7 separate regions of the Homo sapiens genome follow, and all the other regions are linked to region 1. Evidence: promoter capture Hi-C in 16 types of primary human blood cells and fetal thymus (Javierre and others, 2016). All regions are on one chromosome and are shown on one strand. Each heading gives the region's core, a stretch centred on a gene start or on the middle of the fragment in contact. The rest is flanking DNA. Distances are from core to core; before and after follow the strand shown. Region 1 holds the start of CRBN (cereblon). Region 2 has its middle 20 kb from the start of SETMAR. Region 3 has its middle 22 kb from the start of SETMAR. Region 4 overlaps ITPR1 (inositol 1,4,5-trisphosphate receptor type 1). Region 5 has its middle 2.7 kb from the start of SETMAR. Region 6 overlaps ARL8B (ARF like GTPase 8B). Region 7 holds the start of SUMF1 (sulfatase modifying factor 1).

Evidence for each region. The method cuts DNA at HindIII sites, captures the fragments that hold promoters and counts their contacts. A CHiCAGO score of 5 or more calls a contact.
Region 2: a contact is called between a fragment that was not itself captured here and the fragment with the promoter of CRBN in region 1, in 5 of 17 cell types (M2 macrophages, naive B cells, monocytes and 2 more). The highest score is 7.9, in M2 macrophages.
Region 3: a contact is called between a fragment that was not itself captured here and the fragment with the promoter of CRBN in region 1, in 15 of 17 cell types (M0 macrophages, total B cells, M2 macrophages and 12 more). The highest score is 21.1, in M0 macrophages.
Region 4: a fragment that was not itself captured here is called in contact with the fragment with the promoter of CRBN in region 1 in 1 of 17 cell types (total CD8 T cells); the score reaches 6.7 in total CD8 T cells.
Region 5: a contact is called between a fragment that was not itself captured here and the fragment with the promoter of CRBN in region 1, in 16 of 17 cell types (total B cells, naive B cells, total CD8 T cells and 13 more). The highest score is 33.6, in total B cells.
Region 6: a fragment that was not itself captured here is called in contact with the fragment with the promoter of CRBN in region 1 in 3 of 17 cell types (non-activated CD4 T cells, total CD4 T cells and naive CD4 T cells); the score reaches 6.4 in non-activated CD4 T cells.
Region 7: the fragment with the promoter of SUMF1 here is called in contact with the fragment with the promoter of CRBN in region 1 in 3 of 17 cell types (erythroblasts, naive CD8 T cells and total CD4 T cells); the score reaches 7.7 in erythroblasts.

What each region holds. Positions count from the first base shown.
Region 1 is chr3:3,177,324-3,180,940 of GRCh38, forward strand. It overlaps CRBN (cereblon), which reads right to left and starts at 2,368. Exons shown (of 11, transcript NM_016302.4): 1 at 2,298-2,368. The coding sequence starts at 2,364. RefSeq lists a silencer at 2,432-2,601. The HindIII fragment of the contact is 7,719 bases long and covers 507-3,617 here.
Region 2 is chr3:4,322,036-4,325,656 of GRCh38, forward strand. It overlaps a transcript of SUMF1 not described here. Among named protein-coding and RNA genes, the nearest start is that of SETMAR, 20 kb to the left of the region's middle. The HindIII fragment of the contact is 5,965 bases long and covers 1-3,621 here.
Region 3 is chr3:4,278,999-4,282,977 of GRCh38, forward strand. It overlaps a transcript of SUMF1 not described here. Among named protein-coding and RNA genes, the nearest start is that of SETMAR, 22 kb to the right of the region's middle. The HindIII fragment of the contact is 1,967 bases long and covers 1,316-3,282 here.
Region 4 is chr3:4,500,657-4,504,291 of GRCh38, forward strand. All of the region lies in intron 2 of ITPR1 (inositol 1,4,5-trisphosphate receptor type 1), which reads left to right. Among named protein-coding and RNA genes, the nearest start is that of ITPR1, 9.1 kb to the left of the region's middle. RefSeq lists an enhancer at 2,455-2,544. The HindIII fragment of the contact is 6,282 bases long and covers 1-3,635 here.
Region 5 is chr3:4,298,719-4,302,587 of GRCh38, forward strand. It overlaps a transcript of SUMF1 not described here. Among named protein-coding and RNA genes, the nearest start is that of SETMAR, 2.7 kb to the right of the region's middle. The HindIII fragment of the contact is 551 bases long and covers 1,566-2,116 here.
Region 6 is chr3:5,124,352-5,128,160 of GRCh38, forward strand. The region is part of intron 1 of ARL8B (ARF like GTPase 8B); the gene reads left to right. The region is part of intron 1 of LOC124906212 (a long non-coding RNA gene); the gene reads left to right. Among named protein-coding and RNA genes, the nearest start is that of ARL8B, 4.0 kb to the left of the region's middle. RefSeq lists a silencer at 1,393-1,687. The HindIII fragment of the contact is 1,621 bases long and covers 447-2,067 here.
Region 7 is chr3:4,465,772-4,469,223 of GRCh38, forward strand. SUMF1 (sulfatase modifying factor 1) reads right to left here and starts at 1,498. Exons shown (of 9, transcript NM_182760.4): 1 at 1,205-1,498. The coding sequence starts at 1,474. It overlaps LOC124909340 (a long non-coding RNA gene), which reads left to right and starts at 1,053. Exons shown (of 2, transcript XR_007095789.1): 1 at 1,053-1,737; 2 at 2,893-3,452. RefSeq lists a silencer at 1,195-1,374 and an enhancer at 1,545-1,724. The HindIII fragment of the contact is 8,038 bases long and covers 1-3,452 here.

The DNA of each region.
Region 1 (3,617 bases), core at 1,118-3,617:
TGACAGAAAATAAAAATGATTTTCAATATGGTAACTGCCTTGGACTTTCTATTTATTATTACAACTTCCTAGATATAAAACTTTGTCAAAAACAGAATTACTTCAACTTATATGTAAATAGCCAATGGTCTAACACTTCATACAAATTTTCCTTGGAACATGTAAGTTTCACTGAGATAAAAAAAGAGCTATCTAAATGGATGACAAAAATATTCTGCATCAAATTGTTTGTATTTCCAACTCTGACAGTATGGCTATCACTTGGCATGCAGCACAACCCACTTTATTGCTCTACTACAGAAAGTTTAAAAGATAAACTATTAGCTCAAAGGCTGGAATTAATATTGTTAAAAATTTACATTTTAACTGTTCTGACTCCTAGTCTCTAAATAATTTCTTTAGTAACCTTTTTTTCATAAATATGGCTAAAAACCACTTTCCCCTACTCAGTTATGTTTATTAATGTTTCATTTGCCTAGGATAAACTCTTCACATCTCAAATATAAAGCTTTTTGTTGGAACTTAGAGGATTTACTCTTCAGAACAACTCGTACTACATGGAATTATGGAAAGCCCAGTGTTTCCCTACAAATAAAATTTACGTAATTTGGAGAGGCATTATTGCTATATCTACACCATCTCTGGGCCCTCTCCCGACGCTTTTCTGAAAAACAAAAAACAAAACAAAACAAACAAAAAAAAAACAAACAAAAAACCACGCTGACTGTTCAGAGCTATCAGTGAAGTCTGATGACTCATCTCATGCAGAGGCACGATGTGAATGTCGACAGAAGATCAGTATCCTCCCTCTTCTATTCACCATTCTCCCTGAAACACCGGATTTGGCACAGAGAGTAGGGCTAATGTCTCTGAAAAAATAGCTCAGCTTTCCATCAAAGGCTGGCACACTTACCCTTGTGTCAACTCAGCTAGAATGGCTTCGAGAACAACCAGTGACTATGGTTTATTTTTACAGAAAAGTTCTCTCCTATATGGTGGGCACGCACTCAGTCTCTTCCTCTTTTAATCCATGCTGCTACCAGTGGACAAATTAATCTTCCAAGCATAGATTTCTTTAGGCAATTACCTGAAACCTAAAACTGTTTCTTGGCAATCCACAGGAAAAACCCAAACCCACTGGCAAGAGATGCCAGTTTCCCAGCAACTTAGACCCAATATACCTCCTAGGCCTTATGTCCCACAACCATATCCTAAATATGTGCTTTTAGATGTCTCCTGATCTACCTGAAAGGCTTTTTCCCAAATCCTCTGACCCTTAAACAACCTCTGCCTCTGAAGAGCCACAACAGCATTCATTTATCTGGCCCTAAATCAACCGCCTCTGCAGTTGATTTACGTTTAGTTATATTCTCAGCAGCCCCGCCTAGACAGTAAACCTCAATTATCAGATTGTGTATTACCTCTCGTTTCATCTCCACAACACCTAACATACTTGTCATATAACGAAGGGACTCAAGTAATACTTTCAAGTTTGGATGATACACCTTTTGGAAAGCATCTCTTGAAAGGCATTCCATGAAAAGTTTATGCAATATTCCATGCATTTTTTTTTTTGTTCAGTATTTCAACACAAGGCCAAAGTCTAAACATTTCACACAACATACAGGAAAAAGAAAAACTAAGTATCTCTGATTAAGCATAATCGTACATGCCTGAGAAAGACCGATAGTAAGAAAAACAAAACAGAGAAGTGGTTTAGAGATATAATGACAGACACACCCGGGTTGGAATCCTGACTCTGCTGTGTGACCTTGGGCAAGTCATTGAACTAATCTGCAAATCCAATACTCGCTTATCAAATCGGAAACTGAAAACTGATGTGGGAAGGATTAAAAGGCGACATGCATGCAAAGCGTTAACTGCACGGCTCGTAACATGGTAAGTGCTTAGTACATGTTAGCTGTCACTCTTATTAAAAGGAAGGAGACCAGCAAAAGTAACCGCTGTGAATCTGACCCGGTCCTCTAGTTTCAGAGCATTTCCTAGGAGCTAAACTCAGAACACAAGGAGGATGGAGAGGATGGGTTTCCTGTTCTTAATAGCAAATGCTCCCCCCGACACCCTGGCTCACGGCTCGGGGCAACAGAGCAGCGAAGAAAGCGCCGCGACTCCATCGCTGGCCGAGGGCCGACGTGAAGCAGCTTTCCGGTGCGGCCCTGCTGGGCTGGCTCGCCAGGCTTGGCGCCCCCACGCCCGCCTCCCAGGCCCAGCTGCACCGCTAGCGGCTCCGAGCCTCGCCCCACTCCCGACTACAGGGAACTACTCCGGGCGGTTACCAGGCAGGAGCGGCAGGTGGTTGCCCATGTTGTGCGCAGCGTCCTGCTGATCTCCTTCGCCGGCCATGTCTGTTTACCCGCAAAGGAGGCTGGGACAGGGCGGTGCCGAAGACTCCGAGGGAGGGCCCGTGTCGCGCGGCTGCCGCGCACCGGGGCCACAGCGCCCCCTGGCGGCCCCAGGGGAGCAGACGGCGGCGCGTACCCAAGCCTGAAAGTGATGGCCTAGGCGGGAGGGACAATTACAGGCCTGCGCTCCGTCCCGGGGACAGAACGCCGTCCCCTGCCATCCACGGCTGAGTGCCCGGCGTACACGCTGCAGAGCCCTCACTTTGTTCCAGCCCTTAGCATGACTTATTTAATCCTGATATTTTGCATATGGAGAAACTGAGGCTGAGAGCCTTTAGTCTCCACCTTGTTTTTAAACGAAGGGGGCAGGGAGCAAATAGAAACCTGTTCATGCAGCATTAGTTTCAATTCTTAAAATAAGAAGCATATATGTGAAGGCTGGGGAAATCCATCAGTTATTCCGAGGGTGGTTGAATTATTGCTGATTTTCTTCAGTAGTTTCAATGTATGTACATACAACTTCAATAACTTCAGTAGTTTCCATATATGTACATTACATTCCAAAATTAACAAGTATTAATCAGAAACATACTTGAAATGATGATTGCACAGAATGGAAAACGCCTTATAATTGGTAAATAAAATTGTCTGAATATAAACTAGCCTACTCATTATGACTTCAGCTATGTAAAAACAAGTCACTGTGGCAAAAAAGAAAGACTATGTAAAAAATGAAGATAATTCTGTTATAATGGTGGAGTTGTGACTGGTAAGATATTTGTTTTGGAGGGAGGACAAAAGTTTTCGTAGTGTATTTCAGTATCACTTTTTCAGCGAGGAAGGAAAACTGAAAAATCCTTAAATGAAATACAACATCTAAACATGGTAGTGGTGGTGGTGGGCGGAGGCTGAGAGGAAGCAGCAGCATTGCTCAACAGAAAAGTCATGGATCTGAGATTTGAAAAAATGATTTCAGAAAATTTGCCTCCCTGATAAGTTACAAGCAGAAAACTCCCTTGTGACAGAGGCTTGTGAATCATTCCTGTGTCATTTTGCCTCCTGTCTCCGAATCAGTCTGTGGTCTTCGTCAAATCACTTATGGCTGCGGGCCTCAATTCGCCCATTTGCAAAATAAGAACGAACCAAATAGTGTCGCCTATTTGTTCCAGTTAATAATGTCTGCAACATGAATCATAGCATCACCTTTTACGATGAGGTTAATAACAATTACATATACTACGTAATGATTTAACG
Region 2 (3,621 bases), core at 67-2,566, 1.1 Mb after region 1:
ATCAGATAAATTTAAATACAGGGTCATCTACAAAATACTTGAACATTATTCCTCAAGGTCTTGGAAAACAAGAAAAGTCTAAGAAATTGTCACAACCAAGAGGAGTCAAAGAAGACATGATATGTAACTGTAATGTGGTGTCCTGGATGAGATACTAGAACCAAAACAGACAGGTAAAACTAAAAATCTGAATCAACTATGGTCTTTAGTTAATGATGTATCAATATTGGTTCTTAATTGTAACAAATGTATCATAATGTAATGATATGTATAATATCATAGGTATGTATCAATACATAATAATATATATTGATATGTATAATAATGTAATATAAATGTACCATAACTAATGTTAGTAATAGGGGAAACTGGCTATGGGATATATAGGACCTTTCTGTATTATCTTCTCAATTTTTATGAAAATCTAAAACTATTCCATGAAAGTCTACGGTAAATGAAAATGTGCCAATGCCAGAAATGGTGGTGCATGCCTGCATGCCTTCAGTCCAAGCTACTTAGGGGTCTGAAGCAGGAGGATCCCTTGACCCTAGGAGCTCAAGGCTGCAGTGAGCTATGATCCTACCACTGCACTTCAGCCTGGGTGAAAGAGGGAGACCTGCCTATAAAAAAAAAAAAAGAAAGAAAAAAGACAGACAATTATAAGCATTGACAAGGATGTGGAGAAAGTGGAAGCCTCATATATTGGTTGGTTGGTTGCAAAATTGTGCAACTACTCTAAAGCAGTTTGGCAGTTTCTCAAAGCTCACATACAATTACCACATGTCCCAGTAACTCCCCTGGCATGGATCCAATAGAATTGAAAACATGTCTACAAAAAGTGTATGCACATCCAGCCTGGATGACACAGCAAGATGCTGTCTTAAAAAAAAGTATGCACAAATGTTCATATAGCATTATTCATAACAACAAAAAAGTGGACACAACCCAAATATTCATTAGCCGATGAATGAATAAACAAAATATAGTATCCATACAGTGAAATATTATTTAGCCATAAAAGTATGCACAAATATTCATATAACGTTATTCATAATAGCAAAAAAAAGTAGGCACAACCCAAATATCCATTAGCTGATGGATGAATAAACAACATGTAGTATCCATGCAATGGAATATTGTTTGGTCATAATATTATTTGGCCATTCCATAAAAAGGAATGAAATACCAAAAAATGCCCTTGATATGGATGACCCTTGAAAACATTATGTTAAGTGACAGAAACCGGACACAACAGGTCACATTTGTGGTATTCTGTTTACATGAACTATCTGGAATAGGCAACTCCATACAGATACAAAGTAGATTAGTGGTTGCCAGGGCCGGGAGCAGGAAGGAGTATAGGGATTGACTGCTAACACCAACAAGTACATGGTTTCTTTTGGGGGTAATGCAACATTCTAGAATTAGTTGTGATGGTTGCACAACTTGTGACTACACTAAAAAGCATTTTAATTAGGTGGATTTTATGGTATGTGAATTGTATCTCCTTAAAGATATTATAAGAAAAAGAAGAAAAGGAAGGAAGAGGAGAAAGAGAAGGAGGAGCAGCAGAAGAATGAGGAGGAGGACAACAACCACCTGGTACCTCTGGTTTAGAAACTGGTAACTTGTGACTCTGAACATTTGTTTCTGGGAAGAATGCTTTAGGCCCCAGGAAAATGCTACTCCACTTACTTTCTGTCCTCAAAAACAAAACATAACTGTGCCTAATGCTCTGGGTTGGGCCATTACCACCATCAGAGAGTGACACAGCTTTGGGGTGCAGGGAGAATGTGGACAGAAGTGCTCAGTCAGATAGATAAGAGATAGATTAATTAACCTGACAGCTCTTCCTCTCAGCATAAATGTAACAGATTCATGAATAACAATGTACAGTTTTCAATTCCTATTACTTAGAATTCCAATTCCTATTACTTTTAAATCTGTGTACGTGTAAGTCTAGAAATTTGATACTGGTTCTTTATATTACTGTATAGATTTAGCAGATGATGAAAAAGACAGCATAAGTGATAGCTTATGTGATGAAATTAAGATTTTTTGTTTTCTGCAATAATAATTTACCAAATGTGGCCCCATTAGAATGTTTGAACATGATACATACATTTCATGGTTTGTTTTCAACTCTGTCTCAGCAGAGTGACGCTTTCTCAAATTGAAATTAATTAAAAAAAAAATGTCAAAGACCTACACTGACTGAAGAAAGATGGCCTCATTTGGTATCATTGTTAATAGAATACCAACTATGTGAAAATCTTTTTTATAATATAGACCAAAAAGTGACTGAGGCAGGTCTCAATCAATGAGAGGTTTATTTTGCCAAGGTTGAGGATGTGCCAAGGAAAACCATAAATCACAAGAGCATCTGTGACCTATGAGTTTTCTAAAGAGGATTTCGTGAACTTGAATATTTAAAGGGGAAAACGTAAGCAGGAGAGGGGACAAAAAGAGGTGGGAGTGAGCATGAGCAGTGAGGTAGATGGTTAGATTCTTGTGAGGCTCTGATTAGCTTCACTAAATCTACATTTTACATGTGAAAAGTGGGAGGAGAGGAAAAAGTCGATTATGCATTGTCTCATGCTCAGTAAATCTACATTTTTACATCAGATGAAGTAAACATGTGAAAAGAGGGAGTAGAGGAAATAAGGCTGACATGGGGTTGTGAAATTACAGTTATCTGTTTGGGCTCAAAAGAAATACAGTATTGATCGATTACCAAGTTAATTTCCCAAGCTCAACTTTGCCTTTGGCATAGTGAGTTTGGGGGCCCTGCAATTCTATTTTTCTTTTACATTTCCCCCCTGTATTATCCCATTTTCATGCTGCTGATAAAGACATACCCAAAACTGGGTAATTTATAAAGAAAAAGAGGTTTAATGGACTCACAATTTCACTTGGCTGGGAAGGCTTCACAATCATGTTGAAAGGTGAAAGGCACACCTTACACAGCAGCAGACAAGAAAGAGTTTGTGCAGGAAAACTCTCCCTTACAAAACCATCAGATCTCATGAAACTTATTGACTATCACAAGATCAGCATGGAAAAGACCCAGCCCCATAATTCAATTACCTCCCACCAGGTCCCTCCCATGACAAATGGGAATTGTGGGTGCTAAAATTCAAAATGAGATTTGGGTAGGGACACAGCCAAACCATATCACCCCTGTTCTTCAAAATATTTCAAAGAAAGTACTGTAGAAGAAAATAAATCATCACTAGAATGATTTATTCCTAGAAGGCTAGTATCCACATGGCTAGGAAGGCTCATTTCTAAGATGTCATGAAGTCTCATACCCCACAGAGAAAGATAGGGGGAGAAAGGAAGAAAGAAAAAAAAGACCAAAAACAGAAAGAGAAAAGGGACCAAGGACAAATTGTAGCAGCAAAGGGAAAGCAATTCTGGAAAACCAATTCAGCCTGTACTACTGAGAAGTCCATACATCAGTGGCAGGCACGAAGGTGGCATATATGTATGTGTGTGTGTGTGTATATATGTGTGTGTCTGTGTGTGTATATATATATATATGTATGTATATATCTGTGTGTATATATGTGTACACACACACACACACACACACATATATGCATAGGTTGCTGTTATTTC
Region 3 (3,979 bases), core at 1,049-3,548, 1.1 Mb after region 1:
ATTTTTATGATAATTTGTGTTTACTGTATTTTACAAAAGTATTGGTCTACAAAGGATTGGAAAATTTTTTTTAAACAAAACAAAACTTGACACTTTTGCCACATGTAGTTTGAGAAGAATTGCTCTAATGCAACCCTGCATGACTAAGTTAGACATTTCTAGTCTAACACCAGCCACTTCATTTGACAGATTATTAGTATTACACTGAAGTACTATATGAAAGTCATGGTAACCTAAAATAGTTCATTAAAAGTCAGATATGTGAAGAAAATCATGTAAATACCTTTAACCTTTTATTGTCAATTTATAATCTCACAATGTAGAAACAAAACAATCAAGGGCCTCTAAGAAGTCATATATGGGTTTTTACTAGCTAAAAGAATGAAAACAGCCTGCATGCCCATCAACAATTAAATACATTATGACACACAATCATACAACAAAATAGTATAAAGCCATGAAGAATGAGGTAGCTTAGTGTGTGCTGATTCACAACTCTCTCCAAGATATACTGGAAAGTAGAGAAGCAAGTTACAAATAGTAGGCGCTATGATCCAACTTATATGAGAACCAATCTGAGGAGATGCCATTGAGCTGGGAATGCATTCTCTGTGGGAGGTGAAGGTTCATCACAGCAGAGCTGGAAGCAATAAATGCAAAAAAAAAATAAAGCCATGTTGTGTTTATACTCTGACAAGAGACTCATAATACGAACCAAGTTACATATGCCACCTCAGCAGGCTGGAAGATAATTTTTTAAATGGAACCACTTTTTCCCAGTTCCTGGCTTTATTTAGGGAACCCATTTCCTAAAATTATCAACTTTAGGATGCATAAAAATTAGTGTACCAGATGGCATACACACCAAAAAACTGCATGTACTATATCTTATGAGACACTTTTTAAAGATTTTTAAATTTAATTTTGGCTATATAGTCAAGCTAACTTTAAAGAATCCTTAAAGCTGTATTCTTTAAAGGATGTGACTCAACTTTAGTAAAAACATATACATAAGAGATGACACTAGCCATCTGTAAGAAGACAACAATTCCAGTTTTGAAAACCACTAAGACAGTAGATTTTAAGTGTTCTTACCACACACAAAAAAGATGTTATGTGAGGTAGTACAGATGTTAATTAGTTCTCTTAAGCCATTCCACAATGTATACATATCTTAAAGCATCATGTTGTACATAATATATAGAATTTTTGTCAATTAAAAATTAAAATGTTTTAAAAAATTCCAAGAGGCATTTTATAAATGCACTACAAATGTAACCAAAGATGTAATCAAGAACACCCCGGGGTCCTAAAAAGCTTTAGCCTACTCCATTTAACTTAGGTTTGCTTGGTGCATACTGTATGTTGTGGACCACTGGGAATTCAAAGATGAAAAGTGCAATGGCTCTCTTCAAGTAGCTCACGGTCTAGAGGTACTGAACTTGAAGTACCTTGACTTAAAATTTTTTTTATAAAGCCAGATAATCTAATAGAGGAAAAAAAAAACACAGAGGCAGGAACCCCTTATGTGAGAGGAAGGCTTTATAGAGAAGGTAGCTTTGAGATGAAAATTTAAAAGGTTTGCGTATCAGTTTCCTGGGGCTGTCCTAACAACACGCCACAAACTGAGAAGTTTAAACAACAGAAATTTACCGTCTAACTATTCTGGAGGTTAGAAGTCCAACATCAAGGTGCGTGCTGGGCTCTGTTCCCTCTGAGGGTGGCTAGAGAAGAGCCTGTTCCAGGCCTCCCTCCTAGTGTCTGGTAGTTCCTTGGATTATGGCAGTATAACTCCAATCTTCAAATGGCATTCACCGTGTGTGTGTGTGTGTGTGTGTGTGTGTGTGTGTGTGTGTGTGTGTGTGTGTGTGTGTTCTGTGTCCAAACTTCTTTTTTTGATAAGGGCACAGTCATGTTGGATTAGGGCCCATCCTAATAATTTCATCTTAACCTGATCACCTGCAAAGACCCTATTTCCAAATAAGGTCACATTCACAAGTACTAGGAGTTAGGACTTCAACATCTTTGAGTGGGGTAACAGTGGGGGTCGGGGGGCCACAAATCAATCCATAACAGCTTGTCAAATGGAAAAGCAGGGACTGGGACTTCTGGGCGAGGAGAAAACCATATACAATGAAACTGCACAGATAAGAAGAGCATGGTGAAGAGTATAACATGCCCTTTGACGGAGCTCCTCTGTGCAGCTGATACAAGCCACAGAAAGACCACTCTACTTGCACTGTGAAGAAGAGATGTACAGGAGCTATATTACAGACAAGGAGACTCTTTGTGATGTTATTATAGCTTTGATTCAGGGAAGGGATGGTGGAGAGGGTTGATTTCACTGTGAGAGAGAGAGAAAAAGCCAGAGAAAAGGAAAGAGTAACTGAGATATATTGATCATCCACATTGGCTACTAGCTGTAAGTTACCTCATTTAGTCCTCATAACAATCCTATGCCATAGATATTGATAATTCCATTTTTACAGGTAAAGTAACTGAGATTCTCAAGTTTAATCCAAGGCCACACACTTAATAAGTAGCAGAACCAGCGCTCTGAGACTTGCCTGACCAAAAAAGCCAAAAAATCTCAGAGAGATGTTTACAGTTCAGGGATGAGAGAAAATAATTAGAAGAAGTAACAATTAGAAAGGTTTAGAATAATTTACATATTAAACAAACTTTTGGGGGAAAAAACAGGGGGAAAGGAAAATAAATATATGTATTTACATGAAACAATTGGAAGAGTTTACAATAAACCAATAAAAGTTATTACCTGGAGGGTAGAGTGGAAGGAGTACAGAAAGAAGAAGAAAAGTGGGAACAGGAGTGGAAATGAGACTCCTTAACACATATTTTTATATTCTTTTGAGTTTTTAATCCATGTGAACATACTTCCTCTTCAAAAAAACAACAAAAAAGATTTCAGAAAGAAAGACAAATTCAGTAAAATAGCAAAGACAAGCCAGAATGAAGAAGATTGTATAGGTATTTAGAAGCTGGCTTAAGTCTTTTGGTAAAAACTTACAACCTTAATTTTATTTAACATGACTGATTTGTCATTATCGTGATACATTTAATGTTGTCTAGAGCAAAGAGAAAACATCTTTAAAGACTCTGTGTGGGTTGAAAAGACAGTTAAATCCAGTAACAATGTAGGAAAAATTAGAATCAGTAATCCCTATTATCATTTTGTTAAACGTCTAATCTCCATGAAACATAAAATCAATGTACTTATCCAGCTGCAGAAAGAAATCACATTCAGATGAATACAAGGGAAAAAGCTTTATTGCAGTTTTACCAGAAGAAATACCTGGTTGCTAATAAAATACAGTACTAAGAATTTTGAATTTTGCCTTTTAAAGGGAAGAAATATACAGAGGGAAAGGATGTGGAGTTAATACACTGCTCTTCTTAATTTCTACAATAATTAGTTAGAATAAAAATCAATTCACACATACCTTCTACAATTTCTGTACTCCCTAATTCTTGCCTTATCAGAGCAAAGAAGTAACTACTTGGTACTGCGAGTGGGGAAAAATCCTTATGGTAACATGAATGGCTCTTAGACCACAGTTATTACAATTTCAACCCTTTTACACTAAATGGCACTTTCAGTGAAAATAACGATACCAGCGCAAGAGTGGAAAGTGGGAGAACTGTTGCTCAGTCAATTCTTATTTAGAGAAAGATTTTAAAAGAAAATCTTATTTTGAAACTTAAAAGTCATAAAACACTCTCTTAAAAGAAGGTATCTTGTTTTTGTCCTGCGTCAATCACATGTTCCTTTCTCCCATGACTGCCTTTGGAGACTTAATATCTCCAAACATACTACCAAACAAGAACTCCAAAAATGTCTTCATTGATTGACTACTCTGCTCAGTGAAAAATTATTTTTTTATTGGAAATGGCTGTCAGAGCTATTTTTATTGCTCTCCTAAAGGCTCAATCTGTAATCATGTACTACACTTCTCTACTC
Region 4 (3,635 bases), core at 144-2,643, 1.3 Mb after region 1:
TTTGCAAAGAATTCTGAATATAATCTAAACTTTTTTTAAAAATTGGTTTTGGGTTTAGCCTTAGTGTCCTGAGGCTAAGACATCATTGTTCTCCCCAGATGAGCAGGAATGTTACTCTTGTTCTGTATCCGTGTTTTTCAAACTCTGTGGAAACCCACTAAGAGGTTGTTAAATCAATTTAGTGGGCCTTGATGAACTTTTTATTTTTAGTTTTTGAAACAGGGTCTTGCTCTGTTGCCAAGGCTGGAGTACAGTGACATGATGTTGGCTCACTGCAGCCTCAACCTCCCAGGCACAAGCGATCCTCTCACCTCGGTCTCCTGAGTAGTTGGGACCACCAGCGTGCCCCACCACTCCTGGCTAATTTAAAAAAAAAATTTTTTTTTGTAGAGATTGGGTCTCCCTGTATTGTCCAGGTTGGCCTTGAACTTCTAGGCTCAAACGATCCTCTCGCCTTGGCCTCCCAAAGTGCTGGGACTGGAGGTGTGAGTCACCGGGCCCAGCCAAACTTTTTTTTTTTTTAATGACATGCACTAGAATAGAAAACATGGAAGTGTATTTCGTGGATACTTAAAAAGAACTGTGTATGTTGCAACAAAATTCTTTGTCTCACATACACAATGAACATTGGGTTGTAAGTTCAATAGTTTTCTTACTCTGAGCTGCAGTCAAAAGTTTGAGAAACACTGTACTACATCTTTGCCACTCCAAGTGTGGTCCCCAGACCAGCGTTACTGACATTAACTGGGAACTTGCTAGCAATTGCAGACTCTCAGACCCTACTCCACATTCAATGAATGAGAACCTACATTTTTGCAAGATCCTCAAGTGATTCACACACACGTGAAAATACGAGAAGATATGCATTGGAGGATGCCTGTCCCTGTGCTTTTTCAGTCCTTGTCATTTAGTGGTTCCTTTGCTTTTTCATGGCTAGCTCTCACCTGTTCAGGCTGAAGCTGACCTTTGTACTTTTCCCCTGCAGCCTTATTTTCAGTGAAGTGGAAAGGTAGGCTAATCACCAACCTGAGGTGAGAGTAAGTAGTTTTCACATGATTCCCTCTCCAACAAACATGGGAACTTTGATGCTTACATTTGGGGGAGCTTTTATTCGCTGTTCACATGAAGGCAGAAAGAGACCAGAAGGCACATGTACCCCTACTTAGAGTTGTGAAGTCACTGCTGTTCACCTGCTGTCATGGGACAATGAGGAACTTATGTTTTATCATACTTTCTGACCTGTCCCATCAGCAGAACTTCTGGATGGCTTGATATAATGCGGCTTATCAGAAGAAGATGAACATAAGAAAAATATCACTAGTCTCCAAGTTTCTTGCTGTTCTTTTGCATTTCAGAAGGAGCTTTGTCTGGGAAATGATTTTCTTTTGCAAGAACAGCTTAAAAGCATCCCAAGCACATATTTCTGAACAGAAAAAGCTGATACGACACCCAGACGACGGACATTCATTTGTTTGCCTTGTCGTGTGTGTGTATGTTGTACCTCATGTGTCCCTCCCCACCCCCGTCTGTCCACCTCGCCAGATCCTTCTATTCCTTAGGGCCCAGCCCAAACGCTTCCTCCTCCGGGAAGTTTTTTATGATACTTGAAAATCTGTCATTTGAAACTCCAGGGCCCTAAAACCTATTTTCCTTTTGGGCCTTTTGTGTTTTTTTAACTCATAAGAATACCTGGCACACAGGAAGTGCTTACACAATAAGTAATTTGTATATATGTTTTTTCTCCCTTTGAAGGCTGCTTGGAAAAACTAATTTTTTGTACCCCTCTCTCCTTTTTTTTTTTTTGAGAAGGAATCTCGCTCTGTCACCAGGCTGGAGTGCAGTGGCCTGATCTCAGCTCACTGCAACCTCCGCCTGCCAGGTTCAAGCGATTCTCCTGCCTCAGCCTCCTGAGTAGCTGGGTCTACAGGCATGTGCCACCATGCCTAGCTAATTTTTATATTTTTAGTAGAGATGGGATTTCACCATGTTGGCCAGGATTGTCTCGATCTCTTGACCTCATGACCTGCCCACCTTGGCCTCCCGAAGTGCTGGGATTACAGGCGTGATCCACTGCGCCTGGCCCCTGTACCCCTCTCCTGATTAAATATTTCTTGAACTGGCATCTTTCTTTGAAAAGCCTTACAGCCAGGCATCGTGGCTCACGCCTGTAATCCTAGCACTTTGGGATGCCAAGGTGGGTGGGTCACCTGAGGTCAGGAGTTTGAGACCAGCCTGGCCAACATGGTGAAACCCCATCTCTACTAAAATTACAAAAAAAATTAGCTGGGCATGATGGTGGGCACCTGTAGTCCCAGCTACTTGGGAGGCTGAGGCAGGAGAATTGCTTGAATTCAGGAGGTGGAGGTTGCAGTGAGCTGAGATCGCACCACTGCACTCCAGCCTGGGGGGCAGAGTGAGACTCCATCTCAATAAAAAGAAAAAAAGAAAAGCCCTTTATTGCAGAGGGTGACGTGAGGACCATGTAGAGATATTAAGCATTTCCTTTTGATAGCTTTTGAGGTGTTGTTCAGTACAAATCTCTGCAGGACATTTGTCTTGGGAAACTGTTGAGTATTCATAAAAGGGAGTGGAAAAATCAGGTAGTGAAACCAAGCTGCTTTCAGGTCATATTGGTATTGCCCTGGTGAGCCACAGGATGGGGACTCCGCAGTACCGAGTGTTGACTGCTTCTTGGGTAAGGGGCAAAACATGGAACATCTGTGCATCTGTTTCCTCTTCTGTAGAATAGGTGTAAAAATAAAAATACCTGCTTCGGGTCATTGCTGCCGAGTTGTCTAAAAACAAATGTTTGCAGAAGGCGTTACAGATAAAAAAACAAAGCAAAACCTATCTATGTCCTAGAGCAGTGGTCTCAATGGGGACAGGGAGAGTGATTTGTGTCCTCCAGGGGACATTTGGTATCGTCTGGAGATATTTTTGGTTGTTCTATCTGGCAGGCAGGGGTGGGGTGCTACTGGCATTTTGTGAACAGATCCTATGGTGCACAGGATAGCCCCCCACTCCCCTGCCCCACCACACACACACGCAACGGAGACCTCTCTGCCCTAGAATGTCAGTAGTGAACCGGTTAAGAAACCCTGTCCTTGAGTGAATTTTTCTGGCTTGGTGAGACTTTTGTCTCTCTCTGAGGATATTGACCTAACTTCATTTGCTGGTTTTTTGAGGTTTGGGCTATGTGGGCAGAGGGGTGTCTCTTCAGGCTGGGACTGACTTCAACTTTTTAACAAAATAAGCACCCTCCCCCTCTCGCCCCCTCCCAAAACCAAAAAACACTGGCCTTGGTATCTGGAGCCCTGTGGTCTATCTTTGGGCACTCATCAGCTGTGTGACCTCCAAGAAATCACTAGGCCTCAGGTTTGTTTTTTCTACCCGTAAATTAAAGAGTTTTAGCTAAATGCCCTCCACTCACCAAATCTGCAGCTCTTTGCCTTGGAAATATTGAGCTTTTGGTTGGCTTCTCTTACTTTGGCCTTGAAGAATAGAAGCCATGAGACCAAATGTCAGTGCGGGCATCTTTTTTTGAGAAATAACTTTGTAGATATTGTACCTGGTTGGGGAAAAGGTTATTTAGCAGACATGTCTGAAAAAGCGAGTAGGTTTATTTTTGTGTGTGT
Region 5 (3,869 bases), core at 591-3,090, 1.1 Mb after region 1:
TCTTCATGTATACATTCCCCTAATTGGTAAACTGGACCATGCATGTAATCAGTGGTCAAACTTTTCTTAAAATGAATGAACAGCATGTTCTCTGAATATCTGAGAAATTCCCATACTATTCAAAATTCCTGAAGGGTGAAACAAACCTTATCTCCAGCCAATCTGAAATTACTCTTTCCTATCCACATCTTTCTTTTTATTACTTTGCTTCTCCTGTTCCTTCCACCTGGAATGCCTAAATCCTATCCATCATTCATGATCTCCCCTGCTAAAAGTAATCTTTACCAGTTCTAAAGATCCATAGCACTTTACCTAAACCTTCTTATGTTTCTTAATTATACTATAAGCAGCTAATTGTATCATATACATGACTATCTCTTCTTTTAAGGAAGGATAGGTACACAACTATATCTGATAAAATATTTACTAGGCAGCTACCTTAAAATCTATAGCTTCTGAGAGGCAAGGCTTCTAATTCAGGATTCCCCCACACCCTATTAATGGGATATATTCTCCTTGCATTTGAGCCACCCTCTGGGAGAACAAACAGCTCCCAGGCAGCTCTGTGACCTGCTGTGTGGACTGCAAGCACTATTCCCACAGAAGGGGTACACCTGAGGCCTCTCTGCTGGTAGGCTTTGGCTCTTGTCCTATAATCTCAAGTGAAGCTAATGCCAAGTGTGGCCAGTGACAGTCCTGTGAACCCGAATGTTTAGTTGAACCTGAAATGACCCTGTGGTAGATGTTTCAAGTACCATATTATGGGTATTAATGAATTTATACATATCAAATGTTTAAACAATATCTGGGCCAGATGTCGTCGCTTATGCCTGTAATCTCAGCACTTTGGGAGGTGGAGATGGGTGGATCACTTGAGGTCAGGAGTTTGAGACCAGTATGGTCAATTCGGTGAAACCCCAGCTCTACTAAAAATACAAAAAAGTAGCTGGGTGTGGTGGCACACACCTGTAATCCCAGCTCCTCAAGAGGCTGAGGCAGGAAGACTGCTTGAACCCAAGAGGTGGAGGTTGCAGTGAGCCAGGATGGCGCCACTGCACTCCAGCCTGGGTGACAGAGTGAGACTCCACCTCAAAAAATAAAAAATAAAAAAACAGTATCTGGTACATAATAAGTCAATAAATGTTAGCTATTATTTCCCATGGTCAGAAATTTGCAGAGTAGGAATATAAATTTAGTCATGGCTGATTTCAGATACTGTGCCCCTAACTCTTACATTTTGATTCTTTTCTACATAGAATCAATTCCCTATTGATATAATTTGGATATTTGTCCTCATCCAAGCCTCATGTTGAAATCTAATCCCCAGTGTTGGAGGTGGGGCATAGTAGGAGAAGACTGGATCATGGGGGCGGGTTTCTCATTAAACCCATGGGTGCTAAAGCACCATCCCCTCGGTGCTGTCATCACAACAGTGAGTTAATTCTCACAAGATCCGGTCATTTAAAAGTGTGTGTGGCACCTGCCCCAACCCCCACTCTCTCTCACTGCTCCTGCTTTGACCATGTGAGATGCCTGCTTCCTCTTCACCTTCTACTATGACTCAAAGCTTCCTGAGGCCTGCCCAGGAACCGAACAAATGCCAGCACCATACTACCTGTACAGCCTGCAGAGCCATGAGCCAATTAAACCTCTTTTCTTTATAAATTACCTAGCCTCAAGTATTTCTTTACAGCAACACAAGAAAGTTTTTATATCAGATGTGTACTCAAAAAAGTTTTTATATCAGATGTGTACTGCAGTGCAAAATTATGTGATTTTATACATGCTCATGAATAGCACATTTATAAGGCTGATCTTTAATTTCTGTTCTCAAACCTATTAATGCCAGGTATAACTGTTATTATAATTTTATGAAAAAAGGATGATGAACTATGAGTGCAAAGAGTTTCTCCCTTCTGGGATAACTAAGTAGAACATTCTGTAAAGACTTGGAGAAAAAAAAGCAAGTCACTAAAAAATGTTTTGCCCTTGAAGTGGGTGTGAGTGAGAAAAGTATAAAAGACTAGGGAAAGAAAACAGATCATGATATCCCATTGCTTCACTATCCTTTAGTTCCCACCCCACTTTAAAGACACCAAAACTGGAACTCAGAGTAAGCTTGACCTGGAGCTCTAATCAGTAGAAAACAAACATACAGAGACACACACACACACACACTCTAGCTCTCCTTCTCTTTTGGCCCTACATCAAAAGACTAGCATATAAATGTACCAAAATCATTTAAGTTAAAACAAAATGTTTCTCTATCTATCTATCTCCCCACCCTCCACCAATATATATATATATAATTTTTATGAGTTCAATAAGATGGTTTTGCCTGTGCTTACATTAAATAGTTGCAGGGAACATAAGAAATGGCTTATAAAGTAGGAGAACTAATGTAAAGAGGGTAACCAATGCTAAGGGAAACAGGGTAAAGAAAGATACAGAGAAGGGACTACTTGAGCTGAGCAGACAGACAGTCCTGGGTAAAGGCACTGGAGATACAAGAACAATGTGGACAAAGGCCCAGAGGCCCAAGTAGAATGGCTTTTTGAGGGAATGTCAACAGAACAAGGGGTTCCAACAGAGAACAGCAGCAAAAGAGACCAAGGAAATAGGTAAAGTCTGGGTCCTCAAAGGCTCATAAGACAGAATATAGAAGGTAAACTTTGAGAGAAAATGGAGCAAATAAGAATCTAAGCAGCAAAATATAATAACTGGACAAGGATCTTCAAAGGTCATTGTAGCAGCGGCAGTAAGGGTGATTTGGGGATATGGAGAATGACAGACTTAAAGCAAAGAACTTCCAAAGTCCAAGCAAGAAATGAGAGAGCCTAGGACTAAGTGAGAAGAGGCAAAAATGAGAACATGAAGGCAGAATCAACAAGACTTACCCACCACGTCCTTAGCTATATGAGTCTAGTGAAGTGAAGGAATACAGAGTAACTGGTTTGTTGCTTTAGTGGCTCTGTAGATCACAAATTATTTTCCCAGTTAACTTTAAAGAAGAAAAAGCAAGACTGGCAGAAGAAGTCAATTCAGATTATTTTGAGTTTGAGGAGCCTGTAGGACAGAAAACAGAAATGCTCAATCATTAGCTGAATATGCGTAACTGGATTTGAGGAGAAACGTCTGATCTGGGTTGGAGACTGGTGACCTAATCCTTTATATTTGAAGCCATGGGAGTGGATGTTATTAATGAGAAAGTTCAGGGAAGGGGAGCAAAGAAAAAGGTCAAGGGCAGAACCCTGAATCACACCCACTTTTCAGAAACAGTCAGGCAGGAAAACAACAAGAGGATACTAACAAGGAAAGGTCTGCAAGATGGAAACACATTTAGGCCAATGGGACCTCAGAAGCTGCAAGGTCAGAAGGGTTTGTGAACCCAAAATTATCTGAGACAGGTCTCAATTTAGAAAGTTTATTTTCCCAAGCTTAAGAATGCGCCCCCAACATAGCCTCAGGCAGTCCTGATGACATGTGCCCAAGGTGGTTGGGATACAGCTTACTCTCACACATTTTAGGGAGACATAATACATCAATCAATACATGTAAGATTGGTTGGATCTGGAAAGGCAGACAACGAGAAGCGGGTGAGGGGTGGCTTCCAGGTCATAGGTAGATTTAAAGATTTTCTGATTGGCAACTGGTTATTATCTAAAGACCTAAAATCAATAGAAACGAATGTCTGGGTTGCAATAAGAGGTTGTGGATACCAAATTTGATCGTGGAGATGAAGCCTCCAAGAGGTAAATTTCAGAGAACAGATTGTAAATGTTTCTTATCAGACTTAAGGTGTGTGTTGATGTTGATGCTGGCTGGCTTTTCCTGAATTCCAAAAGGAAGAAGGGCATAATGAGGCATGT
Region 6 (3,809 bases), core at 7-2,506, 1.9 Mb after region 1:
TGCCTCGGCCTCCCAAAGTGCTGGCATTACAGGCATGAGCCACCGTTCCTGGCCTAATACCACTAAAATTAATGAGGAAACATGAACTTCGGGTTACATATTTATATTAGAATTTTTTTCTTTTCTTTTTTGGAGACAGGGTCTTGAGCTTTCACCCAGACTGGAGTGCAGTGGTGCAGTCGTAGCTCACTGCAGCCTCCAACTCCTGGGCTTATGTGATCTTCCCTGTCTCAGCCTCCCAAGTAGCTGGGACTACAGGCATGTGCTACCACCATGGCTCGCTATTTATTTTTAATTTTTATTTTTTATAAAGACGGGCTCTTGCTATGTTGCCAGGGCTGGTCTTGAGCTCCTGGCCTCAAGCAGTCTTCCTGCCTTGGCCTCCCAGCATACTGGGATTATAAGCCTGCTAGAGCTTTTATATAATATGGAAAAGATGAGGCATAAGCTTGAGTGAAGTTGAGCTCAGTTAACTGTAAATTTTCTCATATCCCCTTGAGATGAGAATTGGAGTCATCTTGTAAAACTTGCTCTTTGACAACATGGAATTAATGTTTCATGTGGATAGGTGTATTAATACAGCCAGTTGTATTTGTTGCAGTTGAGTTGTTATGCTTGGGAACTCTAAAAAGTTGAGCAAATCTTTGAGAAACTTCTTGGTGATTTTTATGCTTCTGTTTTCAGTAGACAGTGTAGCTTAATGAGCATGACCTTTGAAGTCAGACAGCCCTGGATTTGAAATCTGGCTCTGCCGCTTAGCAGCCTTACATCCTCTTTGAGTCCTTACTTTCCCATCTATTAAATGGAGGTAATGATATGTTTCTTACAGAGTTGCTCTAGGGATTAAATGACATGAAAGATGTTAAGTGGCTAGCACTCATACTGGCCCACAGAAGGGGATAGGTAGATGGTAACTGTTGTTATTTGTAATTGGGCGTACCTGTTTAATGCAGGAACGATGGCTTGAAAAATACTGAGAAGGGACTCAACTGGTATCATTTTCTACTTTGAATCACTGTATCTATCCAGATGTGGGCTGCAGTAGTGGATTTATGGATTGGGGAAAGTAATCGCATCATGTGTTCCCCCCTGCCCCGCCCCCACCATTAGATTATTATATTTAACAACAACAAAACTTCTGCAAAGCTGTTGAAGTCAAAGTGAACCAGTGGCTCCACCATTATCTTTTTTTTTTTTTTGAGACGGAGTCCCGCTGTGTTGCCCAGGCTGGAGTGCAGTGGCATGATCTTGGCTCACTGCAACCTCTGCCTCCTGGGTTCAAGCTATTCTCGTGCCTCAGCCTCCCGAGTAGCTGGGACTACAGGCGACTGCCACCATGCCCAGCTAATTTTTGTATTTTTAGTAGAGACGGGGTTTCACCATGTTGGGCAGGCTGTTCTCGAACTCCTGGTCTCAAGTAATATGCCTGCCTTGGTCTCCCAAAATGCTGGGATTACAGGCGTGAGCCACTGTGCCCAGCCCACTGTTATCATTAGACTATTCTTTTTAAAATTGTAATGGTGTGGGTAGCTTCAGTTAAGAAAAAAAAAGTCACAAAGATAAGGTGATGGATGTGTAATTGGCTTGAATTAGTCATTCCACACTGTAAACATGTATCAGAACATCTCATTGTACTCCATAAATGTATACAATTATGATTTGTCAATTAAAAGTAATATTAATTTAAAAAAGAAAAAAGACATCTGGGCTGTAATTGGCTGTGGCTTTTAAGATGCTGAAAGGGACCCCCTCAGTGAATTTCATACTTTTTTTTTTTTTTAACCTCAAGGCTCTAACCTAACCCCTGATTCTTATAGAATATGTTGAGGATGTAGTGATTAAAATCCAAGTTAGTGATTAAAGATGATTTTAGAGATTTTTAGGTAGAAACAATGTGTCCAAAATAGTAAGTTTAGCCTTTTAAAAAATCAGCTGCACTTTTTGTATTGTATATAAAATAGTTGCTTTATAGAATCAGAAATACAGATGTATTGAGTACTATGTGTCACTCTAGAAAGGTGACCATTTACTTATTCACATTTAAGAAGCGACTTCTCAGGTATGAAAAGCTTCAGCTGAAGCCAATTTTCTTTTTGTAAAAATCAACATTTTGTAAACATTAAAATGTCACTACATGTGCCTTAAACATTAAGGAAGATTTAATAGATGTCATTTAACTTACTCAAAAGGTTCATGAGACTGAATTACTATTATATGTAGGGTTTGGTTTGAGTCTAAAAGATAATGCAGCTTAGTTACAGAATGCTCAGACTTAGAATGCCTTTCCTTAGGATTTTAAAACTGAAATGATACCTAATTTAATCCAGTTTTATGTAGAGACACTTGATATATGTAGTGTTCTCTTTTGTTTTGAACATTATAAAAAAGAAACACCCTAGTCTTGTCTTTTCTGATTAGTGTCAAGGAATGAAGTATTTTTTCCATTGCTAACTGTTCTGGCAGTTATTGCACAATAAGTCATGTGCCTATATGTGTAATGTATATTGAGTAATCTTTATTTTTAACTGGGGCTTTTAGATATGTTATAGTTATTAAAAAATATCTAATAGGATTTGCCAAAATAATATAGGATAAATCTTATGGACATTATGTATTTTTTAAATGGAAGTATAAAAATTTGTCTACACTTTTGCACATTGTTGATACCTGAAAGGTTAATCCAAGGGAAAGTTTATTACTGCTGAGAATTAGGAAAAGAAGATATTTGGGAAGACTGTAGAAATATGAACCTAGAATCATTTTTTAAAGAGTTTGTAGAAACCTTGATTAAGTAGTCTAATTTTCCCCTCATTTTTTAGATGTGGCTAGCAGATCCAGTGAGGTTAAGTGGAATTCCAAGGCAACAAAGCTAATTCGTAGCAGAGATAGAATTAGAATCTGGGGCCAGTGTACTTTCTACTTTTCCCACCTCTTTAGATCCAGCTGAGGTTAGAACCATAGAACTGTGGATTGGGAGATCTTAATCCATTAAACATCTTTTTTGTATTTAATTTAATTTAAAAAATCAGCTGCAGTTTTTGTATCGTATATGAAATGTTTGCTTTATAGAATAAGAAATACAGACGTAATGAGTACTGTGTGTCTCTCTAGAGAGAGCATTTTAAATCCAGGCATCTTAAGCATACTGACTAACATTTGAGGACTATATATTTATCTATGAACATGAATTAGGAGAAGGAATGATAATCTGTGGAAAGTAAGAGTGGAATATTATGTTTGGATATTTAAATAACTGGCTAACAGGCATTACTGAGTTGTTGAACTACTTTTAGTATCTTTAAAAAGCAGAGGGAGATCAAGACCATCCTGGCTAATGCGGTGAAACCCCGTCTCTACTAAAAATACAAATAATTAGCTGGGTGTGGTGGTGGGCACCTGTAGTCCCAGCTACTCGGGAGGCTGAGGTAGGAGAATGGCGTGAACCTTGGAGGCAGAGCTTGCAGTGAGCCAAGATTGCGCCACTGCACTCCAGCCTGGGCAACAGAGCGAGACTCCGTCTCAAAAAAAAAAAAAAAAAAAAAAAAAAAAAGCGGAGGGCCAGGCGCAATGGCTTACGCCTGTAATCCCAGCACTTTGGGAGGCCAAGGCGGCCGGATCATGAGGTCAGGAGTTTGAGACCAGCCTGACCAACATGATGAAACCCCATCTGTACTAAAAATACAAAAATTAGCCTGGCGTTACTCAGGAGGCTGAGGCAGGAGAATTGCTTGAACCTGGGAGGCGGAGGTTGCGTTGAGCCGAAATTGAGCGACTGCACTCCAGCCTGGGCAACAGAGTGAAAATCCGTC
Region 7 (3,452 bases), core at 248-2,747, 1.3 Mb after region 1:
TTGGGGAGAGACATCAGCAGAAAAACATCTTTAATAATTGTTATGTCAGAATAAACACATAACTACTGAGGCAGGATACGGAAATATTGAAGGGGAGAGAAAGAGGAGATCAGGTAAAACCTACTGTGGATGTTACCTCTCACCTAAGTCCTAAATATTGGTCAGGATTAACCCAAAGGAAAGAAAAATGGAATGGGAAAAGGATAGTGTCTGCTAAGTAAACAAGAAGGAGCACTAGTTTAGGAGTCAGAAGACCTGACCTTTAGACCCATAAGTTGTTTCGACAACACATCAATATGCAAAATACCGGGCAGACAGATTGAAGTAACAGTTATTTCTTTCTTTCTTTTTTTTTTTCGAGACGGAGTCTCGCCCTGTCGCCCAGGCTGGAGTGCAGTGGCAAGATCTCGGCTCACTGCAACCTCCGCCTCCCGGGTTCCAGCAATTCTCCTGCCTCAGCCTCCCGAGTAGCTGGGATTACAGGCGCCCGCCACCACGCCCGGCTAATTTTTGTATTTTTAGTAGAGACGGGGTTTCGCCATGTTGGCCAGGCTGGTCTCGAACTCCTGACCTCGTGATCCGCGCGCTTCGGCCTCCCAAAGTGCTGGGATTACAGGCATGTGAGCCACCGCGCCCGGCCAGTAAGTTATTTATATATCCCGGCACCTAACACATACAGGCGCTAAGCAAGACAGATAAATAATAGCAATAAAACAACTACAGTTTGCTTAGCCCTTCCTAAGTGCTAAAGTGCTAAGAATAGCAGGATAAACAATTCAAGCCCTTGTCCTCAAGCAGAGTGTACTCGAGGAGACTACAGATAAGTATACAACAACCCTGGTGAAGATACTGAGACCCAGGATCCTAATTTATTCCGTTAATAAGAGAGGAAATGGTGATTTAAACCATAATTTGATTGCCTTAAAATTATGAGATCCTCATTAAGAGAACAGGTTGGAGGGAGAAAGAAATAGGGGGTAAAGAAGTAACAATAACCCTCAAACCAAACTCCCTAATGGTCAATTAAATGGAGTCTTCCGGTGAGGCACGGAGAAGGAACTCCTCATACGGGAACAGCAGGTGCTCGATTTGGGGTGTGGTTATAACCTTTACTTCCCTTCCTACTAGTGCCTTGCTTTGCCTACTCCAACCCCGTCCAGGAACCGAGCAGCCCCCACCCGCCTCGGAGGAATCGATGGAGCACCTTTGAGTGCGCGAGTTGCCGCTCTCCGGGTACGGGGCCCGGAGCGTTAGCCTCCCGCGAGTATCGGTGAGCGGCTGCCGAACTGCCATGGGCGCCAGGCCGCTGGGGCGTGCCGCAGCCGCAAGAACCCGCAAGGGACCCCGCGCCCGCACCGGTCCCGGCCTCCTGGCTCCCTGCCGCTCCACACAGCAGCGAGAGCAGCAGCAGCAAGAGGACGAGACCCAGCTCAGGGCAACGTCCACACACCAGCCCTAGTGCGGGCGCAGCCATGTTGTCCCGCGGGCCATGTGACCCGGTTGGTCACGTGGCTGAGCCCTCCTTAAAGGGGCAGAATTTTGAGCTGACTTACGAAGTGACCAGGAGAGTTGCTCTTCACCTTTCTTCAGGTACTTCTTTGGCGCTGCTGCTTGCCTGTGCTAACGTCAAAACGCAGCAAAACACAAAACTCCACAAAACTCAAGGCCTTCCACAGACCGTGCACCCCTTTATGATTTCTTGGTTGAAAAATAACAGTCAAATTTGCTGGGCATTTGGTAAGTGCCAGAGTACTATGCTAAGCACTTCACTTTTTAAAATCTCATTTAATCCTCACAAAGACCCAGTAATGGCGCGCTTGTAGTCCCAGCTAGTCGGGAGGCCAAGGCAGGAGAATCGTTTGAACCTGGGAGGCGGAGGTTTCAGTGAGCCCAGATCCCGCCACTGCACTCCAGCCTCGGCGACAGAGCAAGACTCCGTCTCAAAAAAAAAAGAGAAATACAATACGGAATCAGAATCCGTGGGGACTGGACACAGCAATCCAGGGTTTCACAAGCTCTCCAGATGATTCTAATCCACACTTAAGTTTAAGAACCACTGTTCTACAGTTCCGTAATCGAACAAAATGCAAAACCAAAACAAAAAGAAGATGAAGGAGAAACTTACAGATTAAAAAACAACATAGCAGGCCGGGCGCGGTGGCTCAAGCCTGTAATCCCAGCACTTTGGGAGGCCGAGGCGGGTGGATCACGAGGTCAGGAGATCGAGACCATCCTGGCTAACACGGTGAAACCCCATCTCTACTAAAAAATACAAAAAATTAGCCCGGCGTGGTGGCACGCGCCTGTAGTCCCAGCTACTCGGGAGGCTGAGGCAGGAGAATGGCATGAATCCGGGAGGTGGAGCTTGCAGTGAGCCGAGATGGCGCCACCGCACTCCAGCCTGGGGACAGAGCAAGACTCCATCTGAAAAAAAAAAAAAAAAAAAAAACATAGCAGCCAGCTGCAATATGTGAACCTTATCTAAATACTAATTCAAACCTACTGAGTTCAAAATTTTTGAGATAATCAGGGAAATTTAACCACTAAGTCAAATTATAATATTTGATAAAATTAAGGAATTGCTGTAAATTTTGTTTTTAGGCTTTTAGGAGTAATAATGGTATTTGTGGCTATATTTTTTAAAAGAATCCCCTCACTGAGGTACACACACACTCACTGAGGTATACACACACACACACACACACACACACATATATATATATGGATAAAAATATAGGCAGTCAAAGATTTGCTTCCCAAAAAATGGGTAATCAGGGTCTGGCTAAAGATGAAGCATGATTGGCCATGAGTTGATAACTGTCATAGCTGGTTGATGGGCATCTGGGTGTTTATTGCACTATTCTAATGTAGCATCTGTTTGAATTTTTTTAGCATAAAGAAAAGACCAGCCAGGCACCGTGTCTCAAGCCTGTAATCCCAGCACTTTAGGAGGCCGAGGCAGGAGAATCGCTAGAGGCCAGGAGCTTGAGACCAGCCTGGGCAACACAGCAAGACCTTGTCTCTACAAAAAATTAAGAAAATTAACTGGCCATGGTGACGCACACCGGTGGTCCTGGCTACTTCGGAGGCTGAGGCAGGAGGATCACTTGAGCCTGGTAGGCAGAGGCTGCAGTGAGCCATGATTGTGCCACTGCACTCCAGCCTGGGTGACAAAGTGAGACCATCTCTCAAAAAAAAAAAAAAGGCCTTTTCTCCTTGTTGACTATTTTACAGTTTGCCAAGGCCTTTCACACATTTTCTCATTTGAGATTACAACCACTTGGCAAGAAATGTATTATTACTATACTCATTTCAAAATTGATGAAGCTAAAAGGTCAATGCCTTAACCAAGGTTGTATGTATTTACTGTGCATAATATATAGTCAAGGTCTAGGTCAACGGTAATCTTTGTTCGCCTCCTTCAAATATCAGTCTCAGCACATGCTGTGTCA